2 separate regions of the Homo sapiens genome follow, and region 2 is linked to region 1. The links are contacts of gene promoters, found by promoter capture Hi-C in blood cells and fetal thymus (Javierre and others, 2016). All regions are on one chromosome and are shown on one strand. The core of a region is centred on a gene start or on the middle of the fragment in contact, and the rest is flanking DNA. Distances in the headings are between cores, read along the strand shown.

The links. Contacts are between HindIII fragments. The CHiCAGO score rates a contact against its expected background, and 5 or more counts as called.
Region 2: a fragment that was not itself captured here is called in contact with the fragment with the promoter of KCNK18 in region 1 in 2 of 17 cell types (naive B cells and non-activated CD4 T cells); the score reaches 6.3 in naive B cells.

Annotation. Positions count from the first base shown.
Region 1 is chr10:117,195,316-117,200,463 of GRCh38, forward strand. It overlaps KCNK18 (potassium two pore domain channel subfamily K member 18), which reads left to right and starts at 2,174. Exons shown (of 3, transcript NM_181840.1): 1 at 2,174-2,396. The coding sequence starts at 2,174. It also overlaps the pseudogene RPL12P26. The HindIII fragment of the contact is 2,593 bases long and covers 449-3,041 here.
Region 2 is chr10:118,236,228-118,241,375 of GRCh38, forward strand. No RefSeq gene overlaps it. Among named protein-coding and RNA genes, the nearest start is that of LINC02944, 2.7 kb to the right of the region's middle. The HindIII fragment of the contact is 1,157 bases long and covers 2,608-3,764 here.

The DNA of each region.
Region 1 (5,148 bases), core at 924-3,423:
TCCTTACCACTTGGGTATTAAGGGACCCAGTCCTCAAACCCCATCTTAGCTTTCTTTTTTTTTGAGACAGAGTCTCACTCTGTTGTTCATCCTGGACTACAGTGGTGTGATGTCAGCTCATTTCAACCTCCGCCTCCCAGGTTCAAGCAATTCTTGTGCCTCAGCCTCCAAGCGTAGCTGGGATTACAGGCATGCACCACCATGCCTGGCTAGTTTTTGTATTTTTAGTAGAGACAGGGTTTCACCATGTTGGCCAGGCTGGTCTCAAACTCCTGGCCGCAAGCAATCCGCTCTCCTCAGCCTCCCAAAATGCTGGGATTAGAGGTGCAAGCCACTGTGCCCGACCCCCATCTTAGCTTTTTGAGCAGGCTTTCTCAGACCACTTCTGGTGCCAACTACTGTTGAATCCTCTGGGAAGCAGACACCAAGATAGAGTCACAATTGCAAAAGCTTTTTTGGGAAGACTTGTAAAATGAAAATGAAGGAAGCAGATGGAACAGGGAAAGCCTCTGGATCATAACACAGACTGACAAGTTCTCTCTGTAGACCAAAGGGCCACTCTGGAACAGGCTCAAGTTGGAGGAGTCCTGTATTGGGCAGAAATGAATAGGCCCTTGGGTCCCCACCTTGCTTAGTCAGTGGGCACAGGCTTCTCCAAGAAGAGGGCTTGAAACCGGTGGCAAACCCTCAGAGAACAAAAGGGGCTGTCATGAACCATGCTCATCAAAGCTGCACAGCGAGTCCTTTCTAGAAGAGGGATCTGAACCTGCATGCATCTCCACAGCTGCCATCTGAGGCACTTTTTATCCCCACTGGTTGTCAAATGATCCTTTATTGAAATATTTTCCTTTGTGCTTAACAAGCTGAGCATTCCACTGCACCACTGTTGATGTCATGAGGGTGGTGACCATCAACATTGCAGCCCACAGATGGTGCAGTCCCCGGGATCTTTTTAATTGTTCCAGAGAGTTCCCTAACTAAAGATTGGAGCTGCATCTGTCAGGCAATGTTGACATTCTCATCAAATGATATTTTCATTGGGTTTAATGTTTTTCTGTTTCTTTCTGTCTCCTGGAGGTTCCTTGAGGGCTTTGATGATCAGGGCAGAGGCAGAAGGTACTACCTCAATCTATGCCTGCCTGTTCTGAATGGTTTCACTGTAATCCTCAGATCCTTCAAATCACCGGTTGCCCTAACGATGTCATTACCAATGTGTTTTGGAGACAGACACAGGGGTTTGATCTTAGGGGCCAGCACAGATGTGGCACCAACATCATTCCCGGTGCATCTCAGACTTTAATCTCGTTGGGGTCAAACTTAGGCTGTATGGTGGAGGTAGGTGGTGTTGGATGAACCTGGATTCAGGACCACCAAAGAAAGTTGCACATTGGTCTACTCTGAGCTGAAAATTGAAAGGTGGGGCACCTTTTCTCATGGCAGACACAGGCATAGCTAAGCAAGTCCAAATGCACAAGCACAGGCCTAGCCCCTGCTTGCATCACATCTGCTAATGCCCAGCTGTCTGGAGCAAGTGAGATGACCTACCCTAAAGCCAAGTTCAAGGAAGTACACTCTGCCCACCGTGAGGCCCCAGCAAGGGGGGGTATGCAGCAGGGGAGTGAAGAATTGGGACCAATAATTAGATCCACACAGGATAAAGGTCCTTTGGAAACCATTGAGCTCTGGCCGCATTAGTTACTATGGTTACTGTTACTATTATAGGTTACTACTATTATCACCTGTCCAGAAGACCAGGTACCCTAAGCCAAGTTGTGTCACAGACAGCTCTCAGGAAAGAATCACTTGACTAAACGCCAAAGATCAGGTTTGGGATCTGCAATTCAAAACTGCAGTTTGGGCATAGAAAAGATTAAACGTAGCACAAAACAACAACCACACTATCCTCCCAAAGCCCCTTCCAGGCAGCTCCAGGGCCGGCCCAGCGGATCAATAGCAATCTGGGGTGCTAGGGAGGGCGCCATCTGAGTAGTTCGGAAGAACTGAACATGATGAGTTGCCGGCTGCTTCCTGAGTCCTTGGGGAAGCACACGCACCATCCACTTAGCACTGGAGCCTGGCTGTTCTCCGGGCACTCCTACCCCATCTTCCTGGCGGGGCTTAGATGCTCCTGCCTCTTCCACCAGCTCCTCTTGCCCTGCATGCTTCAGGGACGATGGAGGTCTCGGGGCACCCCCAGGCCAGGAGATGCTGCCCAGAGGCCCTGGGAAAGCTCTTCCCTGGCCTCTGCTTCCTCTGCTTTCTGGTGACCTACGCCCTGGTGGGTGCTGTGGTCTTCTCTGCCATTGAGGACGGCCAGGTCCTGGTGGCAGCAGATGATGGAGAGTTTGAGAAGTTCTTGGAGGAGCTCTGCAGAATCTTGAACTGCAGTGAAACAGGTAGGTGCCTCACCTGGACAGGGTGGGCCTTTTCTCCGTGGTGGCAGCAGTCCCCCAAGAGCAGAGGGCTGCCTTCTAGGAGGCTGGGTCTGGGAGCTGCCTGCCTGGATCCTCCTCATGCCTGGGCACTTTAAGCGAGTAACTTCTTTCTGAACCTCTGTTTTCTCCTCTGAAAAGTGGGGAGACTAACTGCCTCTCAGGGTTGCTGTGAAGAATGCAGGAAAGGCCCTGAGCACCCTGAGGTGCTCAGGAAAGACCAGCTCCCCTTCCTGTGCCTCAGCACCCAGCCCCATCCAGACCAGTGGCCTCAGGGGACGATGGATTACTGGGAATTTGGTGGGGTGGGGTGCATGGGTGAGCAAATCTGGGGCTGGGGTTGGGGGGCTAGCTTGCTTTTCAGAACTATGTCTGCCTGACCCAGGATTCAGTTTGCAGGGATGAGAATTTAGGGAACAACCCAAATTGGATTTAAATTCCAGCAGGAGCACCTGCCACCCACGCCCCCACTTCCTGTTTCAAACTCCTTTTCTGCTGTCTGGCTCAGCGGAGTGGGGAGGTGTTGTGAGAAGACCTGGGGGGAGGGGTGGGGGTCCTGGCTGTTGTCCTGGCTGCTCTCCCAGCTTGCTCTGCAATCCGTGGAGGCAAAGCTTTGTTCTCTCTGGGTCTCAGTCTGCGGGAGAGAAGGGGACCCCCAATCTCAGACTTGGTGGTCACAGGGACCCTGTGAGAAGCAGAGGAGACAAGGAACATTCTGGCTCTTGGAAGACAGAAGTCACTTTATAGTGTCCTCATTGCATTTTCTTCATATTTAGTCACTTGTTTCTACTCTGCTGTGTTCCTCGAAGGAAGCTTGTTATTGTATTCAACAGAGCAAGATAAAACAAGGGAGAGTAGATAAATGAAAAACAAAGGAAAACCAGACACTAAAAGTCAGGAGAAGAATGGGGTGCAGGGAGCCCCTCCCCTCCCACTCTGGTGTGGGGGCTCCTTCCACAGCCCAGACCTTGATTTGGGAACAGGTGCAGCTCCCAGAGACAAGAGGCCAGTCCAGGGAGGCAGAGTCTCCTGTCTGTGGAGGGTCCCACTCCCTGCATCCTTGCCAGACAGACGCCAGCCTGCTCAGTGGACCTGGGAGATTGCTGCCAAAGGGACACTGCACCATCGCAGGGCCTAGACTACCAGCAAGTTCAAGGCTCTCTAAGCCAGCAACACATCAGAATCAACCAGGGAGACTGCCTAGAGTACACATCCCCAGGCTCTTCTCCAAACCCACTTAATCAGGATCTCCAGGGCTGGGCTGGGAATCTTAAAGTTTCAAGGATAAGGCCAAGCATGGTGGCTCATGCCCATAATCCTAGCATTTTGGGAGGCCAAGGTGGGAGAATCATTTGAGGCCAGGAGTTTGAGACTAGGCCTGGGCAACAAGGTGAGACCCTGTCTCTATAAAAAATTAAAAAATTTAGTCAGATGAGGTGGCGTGCACTTGTAGTCCCAGCTACTTGGGAGGCTGAGGCAGGAGGATTGCTTGAGCCTACGAGTTTGAGGCTACAGTGAGCCGTGATTGTGCCATTGCACTCCAGCCTGGATGACAGAGCCAGAGATGTCTCAAAAATAAATAAGTAAAAATAAAGTTTATCAGGTGATTCCAATGCACAGCAGGGTATGGGAACACAGAGCTGGTCCCACTCCATTTTGTACCGATTTTCACTGGAGATTAAAATGTTCCATAAGGGTTAGTTGCATGTAGACCCTGTGGCAAACACTTCACACATTATCTCACCTAATCCTCACAAGAAGCCTCACAAGAAAACAACAAAAAGTTGTCCTTCTTTTACAGATTAGGAAATTGAGGCCTTGGGAGGTTAAGCAATTTGTCCAAGTTCACAAACTAGAAAAATGGAACCAGGGACTTAAACCCATGTATCTGGATTCCAGAGCCTGAACCTTTCACCACCATCTCAGGCTGTCTCTCTGATGGGGAAACTGAGGCTCAGAAAGCAGCCTCTTGTCCACAGTTACAGAACTTATCAGGGTTAGAGCTGGGTCTAGAATCGATGTGTGTAGACTCCCAGGCTGGTGCCAATTAAAAGGAGTAGAGACTTCCTGCTGCATGCCAGGTTCAGTGCCATTCTCTTAAAGCCGAACAAGTCTAGCAGGTGGCCTCTGGGTCCCAAAGCCCACTGGCGGCTCAGGCCAATCGAGCCATTCAGGAACCTCTCTGGGAAACCAGGGTTCCCAACCCTGCTCTGTTAGCCTTGGAACCAATGTGTAGGAAGTCAAGTTTTCCCAGCTCTGTAGGAGACACTCACAGGTAGCTGGTGCCCAAAGATCACAGTATGATGGTATGATGATCAAACTCCATCAAGTTTTTATTTTTATTTTTCTAGATGGAGACTCACTCTGTCACTCAGGCTGGGATGCAGTGGCACGATCTTGGCTCACTGCAACCTCCACTCCCCAGGTTCAAGCAATTCTCCTGCCTCAGCCTCCTGAGTAGCTGGGACCACAGGTGTGTGCCACCACACCCGGCTAATTTTTGTATTTTTAGTAGAGACAGGGTTTCACCATGTTGGCCAGGCTGGTCTTGAACTCCTGACCTCAAATGATCCGCCCACCTTAGCCCTCCAAAGTGTTGCAATTATAGGCGTGAGCCATCGTGCCCGGCAAACTCCATCAAGCGTAATGACCTCCAGGAGTGGGTATGATTTGCATCTGTGTAACAGCTTGCTTTTCCTAAAAGCCTTTTGCTTTT
Region 2 (5,148 bases), core at 1,936-4,435, 1.0 Mb after region 1:
CACCCTGGTCCACTCGGATCTCTGTCTCCTCTAGGTCTTTGTTCTTCAGCAGAAGGTCTGTGGGCCCCCAGCATCCGGATCGCCTGGGAAACTTGGTAGAAATGCAAATTCCCTGGCTTACTCCAGACACACCAAAGCGACATATCTGGGGATAGGGCTCAGATGTCTGCATCTTTATCCACCTCCCTCAGGTGCTCCTTGGGCCAGGGAAGGTGGAGAAACGCTGCTGGCAGCTGAGTGTGGAAGGCAGATGTCCTGGGCAGAGGCTCTGTGCTTCTCGTCCTCATACCTTGTGCCACGCTGCAAATCCTCCCCTCATCATCAAAGATAGCTTCTCAAGGGCAAGGGGTAGTCCATCCACACTTCCAAGACCCCCATCAGCTGACTTGGCAAACCTTTACATGCCCAACATAGCATGCCAGGTATAGCCTCGCCTACAAACCCAGCATCCCCGTGTTTTCCACAAGGACATGGAATAGGTGCTCAATGGACTAGTGTGGATTAATCACTCCTTAGCACCTAGAAGGCCATAGAGCTTTTTATTTTCCCTTTCAAGGGACTGTTCCCATGCAAGTGCTGCGCACAGAATGCCGCCGTGACTGCCCTTCCTGGAGCTCTTATTATGCTCCAACTGCTGCTCCAACCAGAGCTTGGGGTGAACACGGTGCTTACTTCACAGGGCGATGGGGAGGTCTCAATGGCATAATGCGAGTGACTTGCTCCCGTTAACTTCTACCACCATGATGAAGACCGTGATGATGATGGCAACTACTCAATGAGTTTTTAGAGGACATAAATTTGAGGTCTTTGTGGACGTGTGACTGACTGCAGCAGAACCAGAAACTCAAATCAGGAGAATTTTGGCTCCTTCCAATCCAGTTGCAGAGCCACAGGCATCCCTTTGTTCCTGTAGGATCCTGGAGAGACCAGGAAAGTGTGTGGGTCACATGGGTACAGAGAGTGGCTCACATGTGCCTTTGACTCCTCCCCATCTCCAACTCTCCCCACCCCAGGCCCCACCTTGGTCAGTTCTGTCTTATCTCCTCATAACGCCTTGATCAGCTTTGCTTTTGATTGGCTGCTAAGTAATTTCCTGTCCCTTCCAGCCTCTGGTCCCCCAGCTTCCACTCTGGTCAGTAGCTCATAAAGAAAGGTTTCGGGTGATAACCTCCCCAAGCACGTTCTTTTCTCATAAAGCGATGAGAATACCTTCAAGTCTCCAAAGAGTGCATCCCTAAAGGTGGAATTTCAGTAGATGCTACTTATACTTTTTTATATACAAGTGTTAAATGTATATATTTATGGCCCATTTTCTTTCCAAAGACTGAAAGAGGCTTACATTAGGACATATTCAACGAACCTTAAAGGTTAAAGAGAAAAGTTTAAGATCATATTGTGATTGGGTGGGGAAGGTAGGAGGGAGCAACACTATTCCCTAATCTGCCAGTGTGATTGGTGCAGCTAAGCATTCCATTGAACCCCGACCTGCCTGGTAAATGGGGCAAATCATCTGGGAAGGAGACCCATCCTTCAATTCCTGAACACATAGCCATTGCTACCTGGAAGAGATGGCTCTGAGAATTTTAATTAGGCATGAGGTAGAGCGAGATCAATAGCTTGTACCTTCTCTTGGAGGATGATGCTGGGGAAACAAGGCTCTGCAATAACTGGTCAGTTTCCAGAGAAGTGCTCAGTGCCATGAGGACAGATGTGGAAGTGCTGATGTGATATAGTTCGGTGGACACACGGAGGAGCTTAGATGAATGGGGAGAGGGGTCTTACCTGAAAGAGAATGAGAGCAGACAATTCCTTCATGGGAAGAATGTGTGTGTGTGTGTGTATGTGTGTGTGTGTCTGTGTGTCTGTGCGTGTTGTGTGTATATGTGTGTGTCTGTGTTGTGTGTGTATGTGTGTGTCTGTGTGTGTTGTGTGTGTATGTGTGTGTATGTGTGTTGTGTGTGTGTGTGTCTGTGCGTGTTGTGTGTGTCTGTGTGTTGTGTGTGTGTGTTGTGTGTGTGTCTGTGTGTTGTGTGTGTGTGTATGTGTGTTGTGTGTGTGTATGTGTGTGTGTCTGTGTGTGTTGTGTGCGTGTGTGCACACACACCGACTCATGTCCAGGGTGTTCTTTCTGCTATTAAAGCAAGAAACGATTTCCATTCTAAAGGTGACCCTCGCCCTCACTTGGAGCCTGGCCCTGGCCCTGGGTGCAAGCCACAGTCACTGCAGTGATGCTGTCCTCTCCCTTGCAGACATCTAAGACAAAGAAGATACACAGCTGAGGAAGGCGAGATGCCTTTTAAAAATTAGACAACATCTTAGAGGGTTTATTTCCTTTATCTCTAGACCTACATCCATTAACCCACACTCAGAGACAATCGCTGCCACTGTTCAGGAAGCCAGCTCGAATGGGTCGAAACTGCCATTGTATATCCAGGAAAGATAGACACACGACAGAGATTTTTTTTAAAATGCCAATTTCCAGGGAACCAGCTTCTGCTGAATGCAGCCTGATAGAAATTCAAGATAAAACTCTCATGGATTCTGCCCATCCATAAAGTGCCACTTAGCAGACAATTTGCACCATCTGTGAACCACTCCCATCCACTAAGCTTCTTTTTTAGCTGTTGTAAACTCTGTCTCATCAAACTCTTATCTTTTACCTATACAGAGCCGTACTTTAATTGATAAATTTCAGGGAAAACGGAGGAGGGACAGCGTTTCAGGAATAACTGGGACCAGTGAGATCAGTGTCTTAGGAAGATGAAGATCTGAATCCTGAACCGTGACTCACGGGAGCCTGGCTGATCTCCTTCGCTTTCACAGGACTTCTCGCTGCTATGACACATTTGCATGGTGACTCCTGGTTCTTTTCCAGGCGTCAATGTGAATGTCCATTTTCTTTTGGAGTGGCTGTCTCTTTAAACTCTTACAATACACACGGGTTTTCTTTTCTGGCTTTTCTTGTAAGGTGCTGCCTATCAAAAAAGAGACAGGAGAGAGAGAGAGAGAGAGAGAGAGAGAGAGAGAGATTGTCTTCCAAAGGTTGTTTTCTTACCCTCTGTTGCTTAAACAATCATCTTCTGTGTTATTGAGGAAAACCCAAAGCTGTCAGCTTCCCTGGACTTCAGGTTTCCAGCAAACTCACCTCCCCCCTCCCTTGGTTTCACCCCCATCTGCTTATAATTTAATGTTCTGTATGTTTTAATCATTTCATTAGGCATGTCCTTATTTTGAAATGCAACTAATTCTTCAGTTCAAACAAACAGCCAGTAATTCTAAAAATGAGACCATTCTTTTCTTTCAGTTAGAGATTGGCTTAGAAGAAATATCACACCTATTTTGAGAAGGGTGAAATAACTCAAATGCCACTAGTTTTTTTAAAACCGCTGACTTTTAAAAGTGGAAATGATCTTAGAGATTGCTTCATTTTCTCCACAGATATGGAACTAACTTTTGGGGATGTTTTCTCATGTCTTTCTGAACACTTTGTGATAAAGTCATTCCTATTAAGGTTTGTCTTAATACGGATTTGTAAAAATTATGTAATAAAATACCTCATTTCTATACTCGGTGACAATGGACATGAAAGAAAAAGTGATTCCACTATAGGACTTGTATGTTTTATTAATTTATTTTCTTTATAGGAATTTACATTCTTTAAGGCAAGGAGAATCATATTTTGCTATAAGGGGAAAGATAATTTGCAAGGTGTTTCATGTGATTTTTCCCCCTGACATTCAGATTTATTCTATATCAAGAAAAGAAGCTTCTGGGCCGGGTGCAGTGGCTCACGCCTGTAATCCCAGCACTTTGGGAGGCCAAGGTGGGCGGATCACCTGAGGTTAGGAGTTCAAGACCAGCCTGACCAACATGGAGAAACCCCGTCTCTATTAAAAACACAAAAATAGCCGGGCTTTGTGGCACATGCCTGTAATCACAGCTACTCAGGGGGCTGAGGCAGGAGAATCTCTTGAACCTGGGAGGCGGAGGTTGCAGTGAGCCAAGATCGTGCCATTGCACTCCAGCCTGGGCAAAAAGAGCGAAACTCTGTCTCAAAAAAAAAAAAAAGGAGAAGCTTCTGAAATTCCAGGAGCATACAACTTCCCCCCTTATCTATGGGGGATACATTCTTCCAAGACCCCAGTGGATGCCTGAAACTGCAATAGTACCAAACCCTACATATACTATGCATGAATTTCTTTTTTTCCTTACCATTCATGGGTAAGCTGGTCCAAGTGCAGTGGTGTTTACAACTAATTGATCACAATTCGTGGGTAGAAGTTTCCTTCTTACTGTAGATCTTAAAGATGTCAGCATACAATTTTTTTCTTTCCTTATTAAGCTGATAACTTTCACCTTTTCACTTCAAGGATGCATTTTATGGCTTCTTTTTTGGCATATGCAAATTGCCAGCATCATTACTCTCATGCTTTGAGGCCATTATATAACAAAATGAGGGTTACTTGAACACAAGCACTGGGAAACGGTGACAGTCTATGTGATAACTGAGATGGCTACCGTGTGACTGACAGGAAGGTAGCTTAGACAGTGTGGATATGCTGGACAAAGAGAAGATTCCCCTCCCAGGTGGGACAGAGGATGAGAGATTTCAGCATGCAACTGAGAATGGCATGCAATTTAAAACTTATGAATTATTTCTGAAATTTTCCATTTAATTTTTTGGGGCCACAACTGACCACAGGTAAATGAAACCACAGAAAACAAAACCTCAGCTAAGAAAGAGCTAATGTATTTAATTTTAACATTATATCAATGACCCAACTGTGCAACGTAAAATGTCTTTATTTTCTGATACTTGTATTACTTTCTGGTAATAAAACGTCCTTTCAGTATTTTAGAAGAACGAGTCACATTTCGCACATAGTAGTAGACACTTAATAGATGTTTGTTGAAACATTCGTAGATAAGTGGGTAGATACACACTGACATTTAACGATGTGCCTTAATTCAGCTTTAAGTGCTAATGTTTATTAACGGTGATGCGTAAATACAACAGCACACATTCTGATTTAGGCTCGTCCACTGAAAATGTCCCCCTACTTCCAAAACGTAAACCGGTACCATTTAAGGATCGAAATGAAAACAACGTAATAGTGAAGTTGTCTTGGAGGAATTGCTGGAGGACGC